Regions from separate parts of the Homo sapiens genome. Here region 2 is linked to region 1. The links are contacts of gene promoters, found by promoter capture Hi-C in blood cells and fetal thymus (Javierre and others, 2016). All regions are on one chromosome and are shown on one strand. Each heading gives the region's core, a stretch centred on a gene start or on the middle of the fragment in contact. The rest is flanking DNA. Distances are from core to core; before and after follow the strand shown.

The links. Contacts are between HindIII fragments. The CHiCAGO score rates a contact against its expected background, and 5 or more counts as called.
Region 2: a fragment that was not itself captured here is called in contact with the fragment with the promoter of PKD1L1 in region 1 in 1 of 17 cell types (naive B cells); the score reaches 8.9 in naive B cells.

Annotation. Positions count from the first base shown.
Region 1 is chr7:47,944,334-47,950,757 of GRCh38, reverse strand. It overlaps PKD1L1 (polycystin 1 like 1, transient receptor potential channel interacting), which reads left to right and starts at 2,292. Exons shown (of 57, transcript NM_138295.5): 1 at 2,292-2,361. The coding sequence starts at 2,318. The HindIII fragment of the contact is 5,981 bases long and covers 1-2,397 here.
Region 2 is chr7:51,158,121-51,164,544 of GRCh38, reverse strand. All of the region lies in intron 5 of COBL (cordon-bleu WH2 repeat protein), which reads left to right. Among named protein-coding and RNA genes, the nearest start is that of COBL, 160 kb to the left of the region's middle. RefSeq lists an enhancer at 3,219-3,513. The HindIII fragment of the contact is 1,092 bases long and covers 3,639-4,730 here.

The sequences.
Region 1 (6,424 bases), core at 1,043-3,542:
AATATGGCTAATGATGGAGAAGCTAAAGCTAATTCTTTTTTTTTTTTTGAGACAAGAGTTTCGCTCATTGCCCAGGCTGGAGTGCAATGGCACGAAGTTGGCTCACCACAACCTCTGCCTCCCCGGTTCAAGCGATTCTCCTGCCTCAGCCTCCTGGATAGCTGGGATTACAGGCGTGCATCACCACACCTGGCTAATTTTTTTGTATTTTTAGTAGAGACGGGGTTTCTCCAGCTAATTCTTAATTCTATTTAATTGTAAGTAACTTAAGCTCCAGTAGCTGAGAGTGGCTATGAGAGTGGCTATGAGAGTGCCTCCCACGTAGGGCAGTGCAGGCATATTTCTTCCCTCAATTATGTCACTTTCTTTGCTCCTCCTCATTTCCTGGCATCTTTGGTTAGCACTGCTGGCTTCAAAAACATCACAAACTTTAAATGTAGGCCCTGTTCTCAGGATGTCCAGCCCCACAAGGAAGGAACAGGCAGCAGCAAGGTCAGAGCATCCAGGTGTGCGTGTGGGTATGGATGCCAGCCCAGCAGGCAGGGTTGCACAGGTGTCTTTACCCAGTGGACTCTGTTTAGATTTGACAGGAAGGTGTCAGAGCAAATCACAGGGGCTTCAGAAAGAAGGGATTTTGTTCGTTTACAAACTGCAGTTTGCAGTTTATCCTTTTCTTGGTCACAGGCGCATTTGAAAGTGTATTGCTAATGAAATTGGAAAGTATGCATTTCCCCCAAATCTGAGATTTACTCACAACAAGCACAGTGGGGACAAAGCCAGAGGCACTGACAAGGCAGTGTGAGAAGAGCAGAGGTGGCAGCAGGCCCCAGGAGACAGGTGTGTTAGGTCAACAGCAGGCCCCTTAACCCACCACAGGGCTCTGGTTACTCACCTCATTGGCAGCAAAGTTCCAGAAAACACAGGATCCAAGGCCGGACACCCGTAGCTTGGTTCATCATTGTTCAAGGGGTCTGTGTTCCCATCTGAGAAAGAGCTTGTGCCTGAAAACGTTCCCACTCTTCTTGGTATCACTCTCTTCAGAGTGGAGAGAAAAAATATCTAGTGTTCTGAGTAAAACATTAAGTTTTCTAAAATCTCTGAAGGTTTAAATGTTGGTATAAAGAACTAAGACAACTAACAAGTGCTTTAAAAATATAAGAGAAAATGTTTCGTAATGGAGAGAACTCAGTCTGACCCGCCAGTTGCAAACAAGGAGAGGTGCAGGAGGTTCGGAACCAGATCATTCCTAGGTTCTGCCGTAAGACAGAGTGCGCCTAGTGTGTGCCTTGCCAGCCTTCCTTAGGAATGCTCTTCTGCTCTTGTGGAAGGTATCCTGTTCCCCAGTGCAGTTGTGGACAGTTACAGCTTTTTTTTTTTTTTTTTTTTTTTGAGACAGAGCCTCGCTCTGTTGCCCAGGCTGGAGTGTGGTGGCACGATCTCGGCTCACTGCAACCTCCGCCTCTCGGTTTCGAGCAATTCTCCTGCCTCAGCCTCCCGAGTAGCTGGGACTACAGGTGCGTGCCACCATGCCTGGCTAATTTTTGTATTTTTAGTAGAGACGGGGTTTCACTATGCTGGCCAGGCTGGTCTCGAGCTCCTGACCTCGTGATCCGCCCACCTCGACCTCCCAAAGTGTTGGGATTATAGGCGTGAGCCACCGCGCCCAGCCAACAGTTACAGCTTTTTATTCTCAGACTTCTCTCAGCTTCCATGTACAGTCTCTCCCTTGAGTAGTGATCTGTTTCAGGCAGCCACAAAGATCCCTACCTAAAACACACTTTTGTTTTGTTTTGTTTTGTTTCATTTTGTTTTTGAGGCAGAGTCTCACTCTATTGCACAGTGGTGCAATCTCGTCTCACTGCAACCTCCACCTCCTAGGTTCAAGCAATTCTCTCGCCTGAGCCTCCTGGGTAACTGGGATTACAGATGTGTGCCACCACACTTGGCTATTTTTGTATTTTTAGTAGAGACGGGGTTTCACCATATTGGCCAGGCTGGTCTCAAACTTCTGGCCTCAAGTGATCCACCCACCTTGGCCTCCCAAATTGCTGGGATTACAGACATGAGCCACCACGTCTGTCAAAAGCACACTTCTTAGGAAGGAATTTGTCTGACAGTGTTAGGAAAACAAAAGCTGTTTCTGCTTGGGAAAATGTTACTGGAGTTTGGATTTTTCCCTCTGTGTTTGATGTGTGTCCTGATAAGAGGTCACAAGTACAGAAGCTGGAAGCATTAAGCTCTATTTCTTTGTCTTCCAGAGGATGTAGGAAGAAGCTGGTCTGCTGACTGTCATACTTGTGACCAGCTTGCACAGGACATGGCCGAGGAGGCAGCCCAGAACATTTCTGATGACCAGGAAAGGTGAGTTATCACTGTTCTCAGAGGGTTTGGTAAGCTTGATTTTAAAGTATGCATTCAGAAATTTTCTTTCAAAAGTCATCACCTCTAGGATGTGGGCTCACTCTGGCACGAGTGGAGGCCCTGTACCAGGAGGGTGCATTTGGCCGGCGGGGTCAGTTCAGAGGTTGGAGTTGGTGTTGAGAATGGAGTTTTTTCCTGAAGGCTTTTGAGAAGACTCCTCCAAGCGGATGCCTTCAGCCATGAGAAGTGCTGATTGCTCTTCCTGCAAATGCAGGATACCTTCCAAGTTCGAGGACTTTCTGCTGCCTGGTAGTAGACAAAGTTAAGCTATCTGCTTGTCTGCTAGGTCCCTTGCATGGAGACCAGGAGAAACCTGGCACAGGAAGAGATCATGGGGTCTTGGCCCAGGGGTCTTATTTCTTTTTTTTTGAGACGGAGTCTCTCTCTGTTGCCCAGGCTCGAGTGCAGAGGTGCGATCTTGGCTCACTGCAAGCTCTGCCTCCTGGGTTCATGCCATTTATCCTGCCTCAGCCTCCCAAGTAGCTGGGACCACAGGCGCCCACCACCACGCCCGACTAATTTTTTGTATTTTTAGTAGAGACGGGGTTTCACTGTGTTAGCCAGGATGGTCTCGATCTCCTGACCTTGTGATCTGCCCGCCTTGGCCTCCCAAAGTACTGGGATTACAGGCATAAGCCACCGCACCCAGCCTCCATGGGTCTTATTTCTAAACCCTCTTCCCCATGCTCTGTGCGCGCCAGCACCCATGTGTTGTTGAGGCTGGGCAGCCTGTGTGCTCTGCTGTTGACTGTCTCATGGCAGTGTGACATGGTGCAAACCTCCATGCCCCCTTTCCTGGGCGTGAGGCCAGCAAGGTGACCTGCCTGTGGGATGTGGTAAGGACCCAGGTGGGTCACCGCTGTCCCCTGGCCTGGCATGATGGGAGCCTGTGCCTGCAGATCTTGCCCAGTGGGGTACCCCGCCACTGCAGGTCACTTTACCTCCTCACCCCCAGATTTCTCATCCTGAAAATCTGAGTACCCCTGTTGTCACATCTGTAAACTCCAGAGGGTCGTTATAAAAATCAGTATCCTTGATGAATGCTTGCTGTCAGCATTTCTGCCTTTGTTAGCTTACTGTCTTTGTGCCATCACCATCATTTTATCAAAGAAACCCAAAGCAAACCAGGATGAGAAAATGAGGCTGCACGTGTTGACGGGGTTGGTCACATTCATGCTTGGAAATTTCTTTGCCTTATGTCACTCACTGCTGCCAAGCATTGTCTGATTTTGGCTACAATTTTTTCCCTTATTTTTTCTGGTTACCTCATGTTTCTTTTATTCCAAATGCCCATGCTCCTGCAGACTCCCAGAGCCTTGATGTTGGCCCAATTTGACCTTCACTCTTATCAGTCAGGGAATTGCAAGGAATTACCCCTTTGCCCTTAGAAAGGAAAGAAAAGCTGAGGAGCGGAAGTCGCTGACTTGATGTTTTTTCCCCTGTATATTTATACATCTTGTACTTGCAGACCAACTAGTTCATGCACGCACTAGCCATTGTAATTGGTGTCGAGGCCCCATTTCTGAAGTCATAGCCTTTTGGGGTTTCCTGAGTCACCTAAAGCAAGACAGTGACTGATCTTGTTCATAGAAACAGAAGAGGTTTCTTGACTCTCCTGTAGCCCTCATTTCATGGAGTTAGGCCTGTAGTGTCTGTGTGTGTGTGTGTGGTATAGGACATGTGTGTGGGTGGTGTGGTGTGTGGTCTGTGTGTAGTGTGTGGTGTATGTGTGGTATGGTATGAGTGGGGTATGGTGTGTGTGTGATACATGGTGTGTGCTGTGTGATGTGTGTGTAATGTGTTGGTGTGTGTGTGGTGTTTGTGTGTATGGTGTGTTTGTGTGGTGCGTGGTGTGTGGTGTGTGCGATGTGTGTGTGGTGGGTGGGTATGTGCTGTGTGGTGTGTGTATATTGTGTGTGATGCTGTGTGGTGTGTTTGTGTGGTGTGAGTGTGGTGTGGTGTGAGTGTGTGGTGTGTGTTTGTGTGGTAGGTATTTGTCCTAATGCTCTCCCTCCCCTTGCCCCCCAGCCCCTGACAGGCCCCGAAAAACACTCACTCTTAAGGGATTCTAAGAGATCTGTCATGTAATTCAAACAAATGGCTCGACTAGTTCCCTTGAGGCACATGATGCCTCAGAGACTGTGTTTGAGCCATCAGTATCATCCTGTTCCCCGACAGTCACAGTTAACTAAGAGGAAGCCAGGTACCTCTGTGAAAATGGTGCTGATTCTGTGCCAGGGCCTGGGGACCTGCCTCCTCACAACACCAGGAAAAAGAGCCTCCCTTGTATTTAAATTATCTCCCCCTTCCATTTTTTTTATTTGAAAAGACCTCTGAAATCTCAAGGAAAATTAGCTTTGCAGCACTATCCTTGGCGCCTCTGTGAGTGGAGGACACACCTGTTGGGGATGTGTTTCTCACCTTCTGAGACAGAAAATTACTTCTCAAGGGCCAACTATGTCCCAGGAACCAGGGCTGGTGTTTTCTGTGTGTAGCACTTGGAAGTTATCCTGTTGTGGGGGTGTCTGGGAGGGTCTCGGAACTTGGTGGGTGCCAGGGCTATCTAACCTTGTGTGGGCCCAGAGTGGTGGGCAGTCTCACAGCTGTGGACTGTGGGGCGCACGTGGTGGACAGAGGTTAGGTTCGTCCTTTCCTTAATTTTATTTGCCCGCTAGATCATTGCAGAAATCCTCTAAGTCTGATCTGGTCTGGTCTGTATGATTCCAAAGTTGTCCCCTTTTCTATTATTGTTATTTTTTATTTTTTCATTTCTCTGGCCTTTGGAAGACAAGCATAGTTGAGAGTAGGCAAGGAAATCCTTGGAATTATTCAACAGTTTGAGGCCTTTGACCTAGTGACCATCTTCATCTTCAAAATAACAGCTTTTCACCTCCCTGCACACTTTCCTCAACTATAAATATTGTCCTCGTCTGCCCTCTGGTGGCGGCTTCTTGGGCATCAAGAACCAGGCTTGTAAAAATTGGGTGAAACTATCCAGTTTTATCTTTGTAGAAACCTTGCTTAAGATAAAGTAGATATCCTCTAGACTTTATAGACATCCAAGACAGGTAAAAAAGAGAATTCTAAAGAGCTGAATGCATTTTTCAGGGGAAAGAACAAAGGCGAACACCTTTAGCAGCTGGTTACCAAGCATTTAGCTAATACAGGGCGGCCCTTTCTAGAATGACAGTCCTGGCAGCAGCCCCGTGAAGTAGGTCTGTGTCGTTCCTCTCAAACAGAGAAGGAGACTGACACAGAGAGGCAAGGTGACTGCCTGTGTCTAGAAGAAGTGGATGTAGAGCCTGCCCTTCTCCTTAGCACAGCAGCCTATATGGAGCTGGGAACTTGGCAACGGTTCCCATTGCCCTGTCGCTGGGAATGGGCATGGAGGAGAAACCCAAATCACACCATCCATTTCTGGCTGAATCAAGACCAGAACCCAGGAAACCCGCACCTTAGTTCAGGACTATTTCACTCGCTGCACTTGATCTTTCTCAAGTCGATTGGTGCCAGACACAGATACCTCAGGACCCAAGGAGCTACAGGCTGAAAGGGAATGACCAGGGACCAGATGATGACCCACGATGATCTCTGCTGACAAACATGAGAGCAGCAGACAGCTGTCAAGGCCTAGGGAGTCCAGAGGGAAAGTCACCAGCTGTGCCAAGGGGCAGAGCTTTGGGGCTGACTTCAGCTGCAGCTTGAGCTCTGGAGGCACACCTGTAGAGAGCTTTGAAGGAAGGTGCCATAGAATTGGCATCGGCTTTGGGTGTGCTGAGAACCAGGTTTAAACGTTGGCTCTGCCTCTCACTGATGGTGTGAGCTTCGCTGAGTTAATTTGTTTTGCTGGGCCTTCATGATCCCATCTGCATTAGGCTATTCTTGCATTGCTATAAAGAAATACCTGAGACTGAGAAAGGAAGTTTAATTGGCTCACGGTTCTGCAGCCAGTACAGGAAGCATAATGCTGGCGTCTGCTACTGGGGAGGCCTCAGGAAGCTTA
Region 2 (6,424 bases), core at 2,935-5,434, 3.2 Mb before region 1:
TCCTTTATGTCCGAAGGATATTTTCGCCGAATATACTATTCTAGGGTAAAAGTATTTTTTCATTCAGAACTTTAAATATGTTATGTCACTCTCTCCTGGCCTGTAAGGTTTTCCCTTGAAAAGTCTGCTGCCAGACATATTGTAGCTTCATTGTATATTATTCCTTTTCTCTTCCTGCTTTTAGGATCCTTTCTTTATCCTTGACTTTTGGGAGTTTCATTAGTAACTGCCTTGCAGTAGTATTTGGGTTAAATCTACTTGGTATTCTATTACCTTCTTTGGATATCGGTAACTTTCTCTAGGTTTAAGATGTTCTCTGATATTATCCTTTTCAATACATTGATAAATTTGACCTCAGAGAAAATATTAATAAATTTGATTTTAGGGAAAACAAACAAAAAACCCTCTTGAATGACAAAAAAGAGAAAATGAAAATAAATAAAGGAAAGAGATAAAACTCTTACTCATAATGAGAAATGTAAATGAACTACAGTGAACACTGTTCATCACCTATGGGATTGGCAAAAGCCCAAAAGTTTGTTACTACACCTTTTTCATTAAACTGTGGGGCCCTTAAATGCATTGCTGAGCAAAATGCAAAGTGCTAGCTTTATGGTGGTGAATTTGGCAGTATCTAGCCAAATTACACATACATTTAGTTTTTGACACAGAAATCCTAGTTTTAGAAATCTACCCTGAAGACTCACTGGCAAAAATCTAAAATGATTCATGTGTAAGGCTGTTTATTGTGGCATTATTTGTAACAACAGGAGATGAAAGCAATGTTCATGCCCATCAGGAGGGGATTGGTAGATGAAGCTATGGTACATGAAGATGTGGTATAGCTACATGATTGAATACTATGAATCTGTGAAAGAAGGAAGAAGTTTGTTATATTATTGATATGAGGTGTTTTCTGGGATATATTTTTTCCACTTTTAAAAATCAAGGGTGACTTTTCCTATGAATCAAAGTAATAAGGCTTCAATGTGATAGATTAATATTAACTCATAAATAAGAATATACTGGGTTTCAAGCCCTAGGGCAGTACAGCACTTAAAATAATAATGGCTCCCAGTGATGACCATGCCTGCTGCTTCAGTCCTGTCTGTTCTAGGCACTGTGCTTAGTTGTGTGGGCTTATTTGATCTTCCTTATATAGACACAGAAAATATCCAAATGCCAGAGGTGAATTGGTTGATCAGATTTATTGATATCTACTTATGTTGGCTATGATGCTCTCTTCAATTAAGGATGTTAGTGACGTAATATTTCTGAAGAGCACTCTGCCGTTGTTTTTACATATTTTTTCCACGCCATTGATCCTAGTCTGCACATTTTGATGCCAGTGCTTGCTTAATCTTACCAGAAGAGGGGATCAAACGGAGGCATGAGTCACATCATCCTTTTGCTGCTTTGAATGTCCTCTATTTTAAGGGATTTTGCAGCTCTTCCTTCCCTTAGTTCACTGTCTGGGCTGTGAGAGGCACTCCTTTTGTGTATATCCGGTGATAAAATGTAACACTGATCCATCTCCTTGTGAATTCCTTCCTTCCTTAGCTTAGCGCTTAGCTTAGCACTTCTTGCTTTACAGGAAACATTGCAGTGAGTATTGGCTTTATTGGTGCTCCCCCTGCTGGCTGTTTCTATGTCTTTGTGCAAACAGGGTAACAGCTTCAGCTTCAAGTCATAGTGAATCTCTGATGAGCACAGAGGCTTAGCCTGGCGGAGGCCGAGGGCAAGCCTACATCATTGGGGTGTTAAAGCCGAGCTTTCAATTCTGGCCCAGCATGCAGAACCTATCTTCACTTTCCTCATCTGCTAAACTGCCCACTTTGTAGGTTCATTGTAGCGATTAGAAATTATATAGCTCATCTGACACTCATAGGAAATGTTCTGAAATGGTGAGTAAACCTGACCGGAGCCCTCCAGAAAGTTTGCAGATACTATTATGTATTATTTTTTCTTGAGAAAATGTAAGTGGTTTATTATGTCTGTAACTTGAAGACTCTATGAGAATAGATTTGCATTAAAAAAATCCTAATGTAGATGGTCAAAGAAATTTGATCTTCTCTGGAAAAGTTAGTGAATTTCTTAGAAACTGAAGTTTACTCTGTTCCAAGATATATCTTCACTGTCTTAATCAAAGGGCGCTTGAATCATAGCAAATATTCTCATCTTTCAACTAACTTTAAGTAGTTTTCCTGGAATTTTACATTTTCCAGAAAACACTCCTTTCTGTATCTGTGAAAGAAAGTGTGCCTCAGGCTGTAAACTGGGCTGCACTGGACACCTGCGGGGGACTCTGGCTTAGTGGGGACATGGTCAGTATTGATTTTCCTCAAACTCAGCCTGTGTAGCTGTGAAAGCATGGAACAGATTACACTGCAGTTAACGTCATCCCACACATCTGGACTCCAAGACACGGGGAGGTCACATAGTCAGTTGTGGATGCCGGTTAATGATAAGGTGTGAGTTAGCTCTCGGGTCTCTGTTTCCTAAGTCACACAAACAGCAGTGATAAACTGTGCTAACGGATGAGACAAGGTACCTGAGTTAATTTGCAATTCAGCACACAAAAATGGAAAAGAAATTATTATATCAGTCTGATAAAGTGCAAATGTTCTGATGTAGGAGTAAAGTGACGTGGGTTCTAATCCTGGTTCTGTTATTCACCAGGACAACAGACCAGTCATTAGCAGGCCTTTCTCTGAAGAATGAACTTTTGAAAGTAACTGGCCTTTTATGGGCCCTGCTTCTTGGTTTCTTGGTTTTTTAAAAAATCCAAATTCTATAAATTTGACCAATCTAAAGGTATTACTACATGCTTCATCAGATATCTCTGCATTTCTTGATACCATAAAGTTAAAGTTCTTCTGGTAAAAGAGTTAAAAATCACTGCCTTATAAAACAAGCAAACAACAAAATAAACCTGTCTGGAGACATTTTGTCCATTTGCCCTGTTCAGGCAGTGACAGAAATAGTGTCATTATAGTGTTTCACAGATGGACGGAGCTTACATTTGAAGTGATTTCCATAGCAAAAGCCCTAAAAAAGTTTCCAGAATTCGTGTTGAGTGGCGTTGTTTCTGATGGAAGCCTCTGCAGTATTGGAGGCAGGCATTTACAGGGAAGCCCACCAGTAAAATAAAATTTTCAGAAAAAGTTATTAAAAGCTACATTTTAAAGGAAACTCCATAATTTCAGCTGCCCTGAGTCCTATGCTTACAGAGAGCCTGCATTTCCACCCAGCTGATCCGGGTCTCCAGGGGGATTACAGAGAACTTGCAAATGCGGCCCAAAGCATGTGTGGAGCTGTGCTGCCACAGGGTGGCAGTGTTGTCACACACACAGCAAATCCCCTCGCGAGCTTTTCTGGGCCTGGAAAAGCTCAAATCTGTTCTGTTTTTGGAGTGTTCATCAGTTGAGAACAGGAAAATGTGTTCCGAGGGCTGAGCCACGTGTTTATGAGGTAGAACTAATTTTTGTTATACATCAGTTGTGTAGAGATATTTTTAAAATTTAGCTTGTACCTTTAGAAAATGCTTTATAAGGCAGAGGTTGCAGTGAGCCTCGATTGCGCCACTGCACTCCAGCCTGGGCGACAGAGTGAGACTCCATCTCAAAAAAAAAAAAGCTTTATATTCAAAACAAAATAAATTGCATATGGCAGGTTTTAAGAGTAGAGTAGGAGAATCATGTCCAGTGCCTACAAGTCTAACAGAGTTTCTTGTTCCTTGTTCTCCTGAGCCTTTCTCAGTATCTGCATAGTTCTTTTAAAGGTTGTATGATCTTCTGTGTAAAGGGAAAAGCGTGGCTTTTGTTTTTGTTTGCTTGAATTTGGATTCTGAATTATTCACATACAGTTTGTGACCTCTTAGAGCCTTGTCTTCCCGTGTGTACCGTGAGCTCATAATCACCAGCACCCAGCATTCTTATGAGGATTAAATGAGTGCCAAGCACAGGAAGGAGCTCACAGCTAGCACTCGATGAAGGTTGGCTCGGCCCTGTTGCTCATTGCTTCTTTTATTCTGGTATAAGTAATGTGAAAGTCACTTTATCCCAAAAGCCTTTTTTCATTTGGGAGGTTTTCTTTATGAAAGACACCTGCAAATGTATTCGTGAATCAAAGGATATGACAACTTTATGGCATTACTGCATTGTTTCCCTTGATGACTGTGTCATCAACAACAAATAACAATATGTTATTATGGCCACTCAACTCTCCATTTCTGATTCAGAGCCTTGTGTATATAAAACTCCTATCAACTATTGGAAAGTAAATAGACCTTAATGTGTAATCTAGAAAAATCATTCTAAGGTTCTTTCCATACCTATTTGACCATTAAAAATAGGCCAGACATGGTGGCTCATGCCTGTAATCCCAGCACTTTGGGAGGCCGAGGTGGGTGGATCACCTGAGGTCAGGAGTTTGAGACCAGCCTGACCAATATGGCAAAACCCCATCTGTACTAAAAATACAAAATTAGCTGGACGTGGTGGCAGGTGTCTGTAGTCCCAGCTACTCAGGAGGCTGAGGCAGGAGAATCACTTGAACTCGGGAGGCGGAGGTTGTAGTGAGCTGAGATCGTGCCATTGCACTCCAGCCTGGGCAACAATAGTGAAACTGTCTCAAAACAACAACAAAAAAATAGTTTTAAAAATATTCTTATCATATGATCTCTAATGCAAACCTGGAACCCATCAGAGGAGGGTTTTGGTTTTAAAGCTTTGATGAATTTTTTTCCCAGAGTGTTCGATTCTTACAATGGGAGTAGTATACACATAGATCCTGAAGAGTTGATAAACAGGGCCTAATGCCAGTACCAGTTCTCGGAGGGAAAAAAATAAATGTAGATTTTTCACCACTTGGCTGAAAATGTGATGTTTGTAAGGATACTGAGGTAGAAAACGTCCCTTTCAAATACTGGTTTTCCGTATGTTCCCCTAAAACATGACTATTATTTCCACTGTCTATGTTTCCTTTCTGGCCTTCCCCTGCTCTTTGTCAGACAAGTATAAAACAAGAATCTCACTTGCCTGCACATGGATTTAAGTTGCTTCAGAGACCAGAGAAGGTGAGAAGCAGAGCTCTCTGTCCCTCGGTATCCTTTCCTGTCTAGGAGATGACATCTCCGCCATCACAGTGCCTCGGGCCAGAACCCTGGGGTCCTCTTTGCCCCCTTTGCTCTCCCACTCCACCTGCAACCCTCATAGCGTCTGTCGCCTTCAAGATACATCTAGGATCTCACCACTTCACACAGCCTGGCCTTGTCACCTGGCCCAGGCCTCCTGGCGGCTCCACTTCCCAGCACCTGTGGTCTCCAAAGCCTCCTCCCCACCTCCCTGCTTTGCGCCCTGCGGTTTCACGCGGCATCCAGAGCGCAGCGCGCGCGGCCGCCAGGTGCGCGCGGCCGGGGGCTGCAGAGAGCCTGCAACGCCGCCCCCGCTGCCCTCCTCCAAGCTCCTGGCCAGCTCTTCGTGTGTCTTGATCCAGGTTCTTAAAAAAAGGAAGTGGACTATAGACAGGGTGTCCCACACACTGGCAGTCCCAGGGTCGGCCCTTGGGGCTGCTGTTTCTCAGCTCGCCTCCCTGCCCACACAGCCCCTGCACCCCCGCGCTGTGCCTTCCCTGTCCCCGGCGCTGTGCCTTCCCTGTCCCCCACGCCTTCCCTGTCTCCCACCCCGTGCCTCGCTTTCCCTGTCCCCCGCCCTATGGACACCCCTGGCTCAGGCCAGTGTGCTTGTCCCAGCATCGCGCTCATCTCCTGTTTTTATTTGATGTTACAGATTTCATTTCATTAGGAATGAGTGTTTCCTCCCCGACTTTTGCCTGCATTCTTTTCCAGCTCCTCCCTGGAAAAGGGCAGGGGCGGACACTTTCCCAGCCTCCCACCGTGCTCTGTTCCTAGTGGCACCTGCCCCAGGGTCTGGGCCCCTAGGGATGCGTCCTCTACCCTGGAGACTGGGATCTTCTTAAATCCCCACTGCTCCCTTGTTGTCTCCTCAGCTAGCACCACCTTTGCTTCCTCTTCCAGGGTTGTCACATTTTCTTGATTTCTGCATCTTAAATATGTCCCAGGCGGACCTATAGTCCTTCCCTTTTCTTCCTGTTGAGCGATGGTTACAGGCTGTGGACGCGTGTGAGTGAGGAGGCTCCTCCCCGACCCTGCCCTTCCGCCATCCGGTAGGTTTGGGTCCATTCTTCTCCATTCTTTCAACATAAACTGCACCTTGAGGGTCTCTTCTCCTTTTTGAAATTTTGCATGGTACCAATTCATAGTAGATTACAGAGTAAAATAAATAAAATAAACAAATAGAAAATACATAGAAATAGTAAAATAAAAAGAATAATAAATAAACAGTCCCATATCAATCATCCACCATTAACAAATGTTAATGTGTGTTTAGCTACATTTGCTGCA